2 separate regions of the Homo sapiens genome follow, and region 1 is linked to region 2. Evidence: promoter capture Hi-C in 16 types of primary human blood cells and fetal thymus (Javierre and others, 2016). All regions are on one chromosome and are shown on one strand. Each heading gives the region's core, a stretch centred on a gene start or on the middle of the fragment in contact. The rest is flanking DNA. Distances are from core to core; before and after follow the strand shown.

The links. The method cuts DNA at HindIII sites, captures the fragments that hold promoters and counts their contacts. A CHiCAGO score of 5 or more calls a contact.
Region 1: a fragment that was not itself captured here is called in contact with the fragment with the promoter of LMOD3 in region 2 in 1 of 17 cell types (M2 macrophages); the score reaches 5.5 in M2 macrophages.

What each region holds. Positions count from the first base shown.
Region 1 is chr3:69,638,416-69,642,629 of GRCh38, forward strand. No RefSeq gene overlaps it. Among named protein-coding and RNA genes, the nearest start is that of MITF, 99 kb to the right of the region's middle. The HindIII fragment of the contact is 5,935 bases long and covers 1-4,214 here.
Region 2 is chr3:69,119,557-69,123,850 of GRCh38, forward strand. LMOD3 (leiomodin 3) reads right to left here and starts at 3,039. Exons shown (of 3, transcript NM_198271.5): 1 at 2,537-3,039; 2 at 1-504. The coding sequence starts at 2,830. RefSeq lists an enhancer at 1,894-3,093. The HindIII fragment of the contact is 5,880 bases long and covers 802-4,294 here.

The sequences.
Region 1 (4,214 bases), core at 16-2,515, 520 kb after region 2:
CTGTTTTGATTACTGTAACCCTATAGTTTGAAGTCAGGTAGTGTGATGCCTCTGGCTTTGTTCTTTTTGCTTAGGATTGCCTTGACTATTTTGTTCTCTTTGTTTCTTTCATATAAATTTAGAATAGCTTTTTCTAAATCTGTGAAAATTACATTGGTAGTTTAATGGAAATTGTATGGAATCTATAAATTGCTTTGGGCAATATGCCCATTTTAACAATATTAATTTCTCCTGTCCATGAGCATAGACTGTTTTTCCATTTGTTTGTGTCATCTCTGATTTCTTTCAGTGGTGTTTTATAATTTTCATTGTAGAGATCTTTCACCTCCCTGGTCAACTGTATTCCTAACTAATTTTTGTGTGTCTGTGGCTATTGTGAATTTGGCTCTCAGCTTGGAGTTATTGGTGTATGGAAATGTTCCTGAGTTTTGTATATTGATTTTGCATCCTGAAACTTTACTGAAGTTGTTTATCAGTTCTAGAAATTTTGGGACAGAGACTAAGGGGTTTTCTAGGTATAGAATCACATCATCTGCAAAGAGAGATAGTTTGACTTCCCCTCTTCCTATCTTGATGCCTTTAATTTCTTCCTCTTGACAAATTACTTTGGCTAGGGCTTCCTAGTATGTATTTTAAACAAAGACATTTGAAGCAATTAAATATTTTAGTGTTAATCTTTGCAACCATTACTTAATTTGAAAGAAACAACATTTCACTGTCTTTTCTTTAAAATAGCATGAGTTAGATGGTAACTGTATTAGCCAAAGTTCTCCAGAAAAACAACCAATAGGATGTGTATGTGGTGTGTGTGAGTGTGTGTGTGTGTGTGTGTGTGTGTAGAAAGAGATTATAAGAAATTGGCTCACACAGTTATGGATGCTGTAGTTGGCAATCTGGAGACCTAAGAGAGCTGATGGTATAGTTGTAGTCCAAGTCCAAGGGCCTGAGAAGCAGAAGAGCCAAATGTGTAAATTACAATCTGAGTCCAAGTTTGAAGGCAGGAGATCAATGTCTCAGCCTGAAGACAGTTAGGCAGAAAGAGGAGATTCTCCCTACTCTGCCTTTTGTTCTAATCAGGCCTTCAACAGATTGGATGAGGCTCACCCACATTGGGTTGGGCAATTTACTTTTCTCCGTCCACCAAGTCAAATGTTAATCTCATTCACAAACACCTTTATAAACACACACAGAATAATGTTTAACTAAATATCTGGGCACCCAATGGCACAATCAAGTTGACACATAAAATTAACCACCATGGTGACTATCGCTTATCGTGGGATAAATAATTCCATTGTATCCTGTTTACAACAAGACTTGAACATCAGACATAGTATATACTTGCAAATCAGGGCAACTAATACAACAGAAAGTTTTATTGATTTTTAGCATCTTTCTGGGAGTTACAAAACATCACTAGCATTAAAAGCCTGGATGGGGAAAGAAGTAAGAGTATTCTATTCAACACAGTTTTGGAAGTCCTGGCCAGAACAATCAGGCAAGAGAAAGAAATAGAAGGCATCCAGATAGGAAAAGAATAAGTCAAACTATCCCTGTTTGCAGATGACATGATTCTATACCTAGAAAACCCCATAGTCTCTGCCAAAAAAGCTCATTGAACTAATAAGCAACGTCAGCAAAGTTTCAGGATACAAAATAAACAGACAAAAATCAGTAGCATTCTTAACCCCCAATGACATTCAAGCCAAGAGCCAAATCAGGAATGAGATTCCAGTCACAATTGCCACAAAAAGAATAAAATACCTAGGGATACTGCTAACCAGAAAGTGAGAGATCTCTACAATGAAAATTACAGAGCACTGTTGAAAGAATTAAGATACTACAGAAGCAAATGGAAAAACATTCTATGCTCATGGATAAAGAGAATCAATATTGTTAAAATGGCCATACTGCACAAAGCAATTTATAGAGTCAATGCTATTCCTATCAAACTACCAATTACATTTTTCAAAAAAAATAGGAAAAGCTGTTAAAAAGTTCATATGGAACTGGCCCGGTGCGGTGGCTCATGCCTGTAATCCCAGCACTTTGGGAGGCTGAGGTGAGTGGATCATGAGGTCAGGAGATCAAGACCATCCTGGCCAACATGGTGAAACCCCATCTCTACTGAAAATACAAAAATTAGCTGGGTGTGGTTTCACGTGCCTGTTATCCCAGCTACTCAGGAGGCTGAGGTGGGAGAATCGCTTGAACCGGGGAGGTGGAGGTTGCAGTGAGCCGACATCGTGCCACTGCACTCCAGCCTGGCAACAGAGTGAGACTCCGTCTAAAAAAAAAAAAAAAATTCATATAGAACCAAAAAAGATCCCAAATAGTCAAGATATTCCTAAGCAAGAATAAAGCAGGAAGCATCATGTTACCCAACTTCAAATTATATTACAGGGCTACAATAACCAAAACAGAATGATACTGGTACAAACACAGACACATAGACCAATGGAGCAGAATAGAGAGCCCCAAAATAATGCCACACATCTACAACAAAGCTGACAATAACAAGCCAGGGTGAAAAGGACTCTCTATTCAATAAATAGTGCGGGCATAAACGTCTAGCAATATGCAGAAGATTGAAACGGGACCCCTTCCTTATACTATATACAAAACTCAACTCAAAATGGATTAAAGAATTAAATGGAGAACCTAAAACTATAAAAACCTCGGAAGATAACCTAGGAAATACTATTCTGGACATAGAAACTGGCAAAGATTTCATGACAAAGAGACCAAAAGCAATTGCAACAAAAGCAAAAATTGACAAATGGGATCTAATTAAACTAAAGAACTTTGACACAGCACAAGAAACTATCAACATAATAAACAGATAAACAGCCAGGCGCAGTGGCTCATGCCTGTAATCCCAGCAGTTTGGGAGGCTGAGGCAGGCAGATCACTTGAGGCCAGAAGTTTGAGACCAGCCTGGCTAATATGTTAAAACCCCGTCTCTACTAAAAATACCAAAAATTTAGCTCGGCATGGTGGCACACGCCTGTGGTCTCAGCTACTCAGGAGGCTGAGGAACGAGAATCACTTGAACCCAGGAGGCAGAGGTTGCAATTAGCCAAGATGGCGCCACTGCACTCCAGCCTGGGTGACAGAGAGAGAGTCTGCCTCAAAAAATAAAAAATAAATAAATAAATGAATAAATAAACATACAACCTACAGAATAGGAGAAAATATTTCCAAACTATGCATCTGACAAAGGTTTAATTCCAGGATCTATCAGCATCTATAAGGAACTTAAACAAATTTACAATAGAAAACAACCACATGAAAAAGTGGGCAAAGGACATGAATAAATACTTTTCAAAAGAAGACATACATGCAGCCAACAAACATATGAAAAAGCTCAATATCACTAATCATTAGAGAAGTGTAAATCAAAACCACACAGAGATACCATCTCACACCAGTTAGAATGGCTATTATCAAAAAGTCAAAAAATAACAAATGCTGCAAGGCTGCGGAGAAAAGGGAACATTTATACTCTGCTGGTGGGAGTGTAAACTAGCTCAACCATGCTGGAAAGCAGTGTGGCAATTCCTCAAAGACTTAAAAATAGAACTACCGTTTGACCCAGCAATCCCATTACCCAAAGAAATATAAATCGTTTTACCATAAAGACACGTGCACGCATGTGTTCATTGCAGCACTATTCACAATAGCAAAGACATGGAATCAACATAAAGGCCCATCAACAGTAGACTGGATAAAGAAATATAGTACATATACACCATGGAATACTATGCAGCCATAAAAAGAATGAGATCATTTCTTTTGCAGGAACATGGATGGAACTAGAGGCCATTATTCTTAGCAAACTAACGGAGGAACAGAAAAACCAAATATTGCATGTTCTCACTTATAAGTGGGAGCTAAATAATGAAAACCAATGGACATAGGGAGGGGAACAACAGACAGTGGGGCCTACTTGAGGTGGGAGGATGGGAGGAGGGAACAGATCAGGAAAAATAACTATCAGGTACCAGTCTTAGTAGATGGTGACAAAATCATCTGTACACCAAACCCCTGTGAAACGAAGTCTACCCATATAACAAACCTGCACATATATTCCTGAATCTAAAATAAAAGTTAAAGAAAAGAATTAGGAGTATGTGGCAGTGAAGGGTTAAGTCTTGGTTTTGCTAAGGTCATTGGTGACAGTAATAATTAATAATAATCATCATCATCATCTT
Region 2 (4,294 bases), core at 1,789-4,288:
GATGTTTTCAATGTTGTTCAGGTTGAGTTCCTTCATGTCAGGATCATTTTTCCTAACTCTCCTCAAGCTCCCATCCAGGTCTGTCTGGTTTCCTGAAGGCCTTGTACTTACCTTCAAAAAGCTGGTGTCTAGAGCTAACTTCTTAGGATCTAATTTCGATATTTTTTTCTCACTTTGTTCTTGGGCCTCTGGTCTGTCTCTCTGTTCTTTGAATGCTTTGTCAGTTACCTGCTGGCAGTTGTTCTCACAATTTCTAATTTGTTCCTTTGCTTTGCCTTCCTCTTCTCTGTTCGTTTCTTCACTCTCTTCACCATCATCTTCTCCTTCGTCGTCATCATCATCATCTTCTTCTTCTTCATCTTCTTCATCTGTTTCTTGGATATTGCTGCTGCCCTTTGATTCTCTTTTATTTGCAACTATTTCATTATTGAGCTTTTCTTTTAAATACTGGGCCATATTTTTATTACGTTTTTCTATTTCTTCATGCTCTTCTTGAGTCTTTTCCTACAAGAGAGGTTTATGAGGGTTAGAATACATAGCAGAGAAGAAATATGAAGTGGAGCATCAGCTAGTGGAGATAATAAAAATGCTTATTTAAAAGAGCTGGTTGCTATTTTAAATAATCCTTATTTAAATAGCTGATTGCTAAAAATGGGTGGTTATTCTATCCCATAAATTAAAATGAGTATTAAAAGGAAACCTTATTAATTTTAATATTCTGTACTTTTTAATGGTGTTTAATTTCAGAAGCAGTTAAAAATTGTTTTGAAAACCTCATAGAATTGTTCATCGATACACTGAAGCTTTGATTTTGTATCTACCAAATAGGCATCTAGTACCCAACAGTCCTGAGTTAGGGCAATAATTTCCTTATTATTCCAATATATTATAAATGTGATACTATAAATATATTAGAATAAGGAAATTATTGCCCTAAAATTAACATCCCTACAATGTCTACTAATCTAGTATAGAATGTACATGAACTTCCTCTGAGAACATAACATAATGTATGGGAAATTAGATACGTTTGACATTTTGGAATATATATATATTTAAAAACCTCAATTTTGATTTTGAATATATATATATACATATATATATTTAAAACCTCAATTTTGATTCTATTTTTTCAGTTCTTTGACAACTGCCATGATACTCTGTCTAGGACAAGTTTACTATCCCAGTTTCTTGTGAAAGAAAGTGCCTAGGAACCAGGGCCAGCTGTAAGATGAAACAGGATTATGCAGACATTGAGAAATAATTGCTTAGTCTGGGAAATAAAATGGGCCTTTTATCAATAATATGTATTAGATTCTTGCACATCAATTATAATGCTTTTCTATGCAACTTGTGGGCCTCATAGATATCATTTTGAAAGCCAGTATAGCAAGTTGAGACACAGGTTCATTTGAGCAAAAATTTCATGCTCATAACATAGGTCAGAAGAGACAGTGACAAGTCACCTTAACCACCTGAAGTCTTCACCACTGCATTTCTCACCTTGACCAGAAGGGGGAGCCAACCATCAAGCTGTTCAAGTTATACCAGAGGAAGGAAAAACATGTTGCAAGTACTCGTTTTTACCCCCTGAAACTGGCATTCACATAGAATTGGCTTTTCATCCATTGATCTCCAGTTGTAAAAAATCTGCAAATTGTACCTTGAACTCTAACCTGATCAATCCAGCTGTTTCTTTTCTTAATCTTAGCACATGTTTAAACTCTACTGACTGTAAAACCAATTGACAACTTTCCTTAATTACAGCCAGCTTCAGAGTAATTTAACAAGATGTATCTTTGTAAACAGGCATAACCTAAAGAGACTTTACCTAGGAGGCATCTCTGTCCTCTTTTTGTTAAGTCATTTTCAAGTGGAACATAAAAAAAAAAATTATGCTCATGCACAGTAAGTTTGCAGAGTTAACAATTCTAGCTTTCAGGTTTTAGAAAGTGAAGAACTAGCTTCAAAACCACTTAATAGCCATCGATTTCTAAATGTCATCACTGACAGCCAATACATAGTAATAATATAAGACATTTTCTGGTTATTCGACTTGGTTTAATTGCAGGTTGTGTGGCCAGACTTCAGGAGGACTGAAATGTTTGACACTGTGTGCGAAACACTGCGTATGTTTGGATGTGCCAGAGAGACAGAGGCTACAGAGCTGTCATTACTTTCTCAAAGGGGCCTGCAATAAAAAAGAAAGAGAGAGGTAAGGACAACTGCCTCTGGGTTATGAGTTAAGTCACTAAGTATCGTGGCAATAGAACACAGGCTTTCTGACACAGCAAACCCGACAGCAATTTTTAAAAAGAGACATTTGCAAGAAATTACCCAATTTTCCCCTTGTAAATATAAATGTGTTTCAGAAAGTTCCAGTCGGAGTAGGATTAAATATTATGGTTTAATCTAGATATGGCAAAAACAAAGCAGAACCAAACCCTGGAGTCTTGAGAAATCACAGTTACAACAGAGAGACCTAACAGCCCATCCCAGGCAGCCATTTCTCGGTTGTACACAAATCTCTGGTTACCTCGGATTTCACAAAGGTGACAGGAACTCGTTCCTCTTCCAGCATGCGCCTGGATGCCTTTTCCCAATACATATAATCAACAAGAGATTTATGATTGAAGTTTCCTGTCGGTGGCTTGTCAGTTTGATCTTTCTGAATCATTCCCACGGGAAGGCTGGGGTCAGGGGCCATGACTTCCATTTCCGACTGCAGTTCTTTCAGTTCTTCAGCAGACAAGTTGGCCAAGATTTCATCTTCATTAATCTCCTCATCGAGAAGTTCTTCTTGATCTGAATTTCTGCTGTGCTCTGACATTATTTTTTCTAAATATTATTTTACTAGAAAAGAAGAATAATCAAAGATGATTTTTAAAAAGAAGGAAAAAAGCCTCAAGAAGGTCCCCCAGTTAACGAGTGTCCCAAGTTAACACACCCTTGAGATATTTTTTTTTTTTTCCCAGGAACCTCAGTGGTTTGCTGAGCAGCTAGGAGTGATCACAGCTAAGCTCTTGCCGGATCTATATTAAGCAGGGCTTGGCTGGATGGGGTCAATTTATGGAACAACTATGCTGCTCTCTTTTTGGCAACTTGAGTCAGCTGCGCAAATCCATCTGACATTTCAGTACAGCTGCTATGTTTGCCAGAGACTAGCAGAGACTACAGAATCTCTGCAGGAATAAAATTAATTATCTTCCTATATGCCATCATATTGCCATACACAAATTCATGCAGCTCATACATACATACCCCAATACTCCAGGGGATTCCACTTGTTTTTATTTAAATATTAAAGCAACTTACAATATTTCAGAAGGGAAATCCAACCAGCAACCTGAGTTGTTTCTGAAGTAAAGAATTCACTTGAAGGTAGAAATCAAGCTCTTAGGGTCTGCCTCTTCCCTACAAGGTGAGTGTGGAAGCAAATAAAGTGGTGCACAGTGGAACAGAGGTCTTGCTATGTCACTCATCCTCTGTGTAAGCCGAACCTTTGCAAGATGTCCTGTTTGCATCTAGATCCTGTGATCTAACAGATGGGGACAACCAGCACTTGGATTTCCACTATAAGTGAGTTTAATATTTTAAATTATTTGCTTTTCTTATTAAGTATCCATTAAGCCAATATCAATGAAAATGGCTCTAAAGTGAAGTGTTAAAAAAGAAATCCAGACCACTAATATACTAAAAGAAACTATGAGAAGATTTTGTTTTCAAACCCTGAAGGGGCAATATGCAACATTTGTCCAAATTACAAATGCCCATTTCCTTTGACCCAGCAATTCCACTTTGAGAAGTGTATCCTACAGATATACCCCTACATGGGTGAAACAACGTGTGTACAAGGTTACACAATATAGCAAAGTACAAAACAGTGTGTTTTACATGCCATTATTTGTGTGACAAAGGGTACAATAATATATAATATACAAGTTTTATTATATATATATTTAAGACAGGGTCTGGCTCTGTCACCCAGGCTGGAGGGCAGTGCTGCGATCTCAGCTCACTGCAACCTCTGCCTCCCAGGATCAAGCTGGGACCACAGGCATGCACCACTACACCCAGCTAATTGTATTTTTTGTAGAGACAGGGTTTTGCCATATTGCTCAGGCTGGTCTCGAATTTCTGAGTTCAAGCAATCCACCTGCCTCGGTGTCCCAAAGTTCTGGGATTACAGGCGTGAGCCACCGTGCCTGGCTCGTAAATATATTCTTATTCCGAAATATACATTCATTGTACAAGAGTTAGGATAACATAGAAAGGCACAGAACAAAATCTTCCC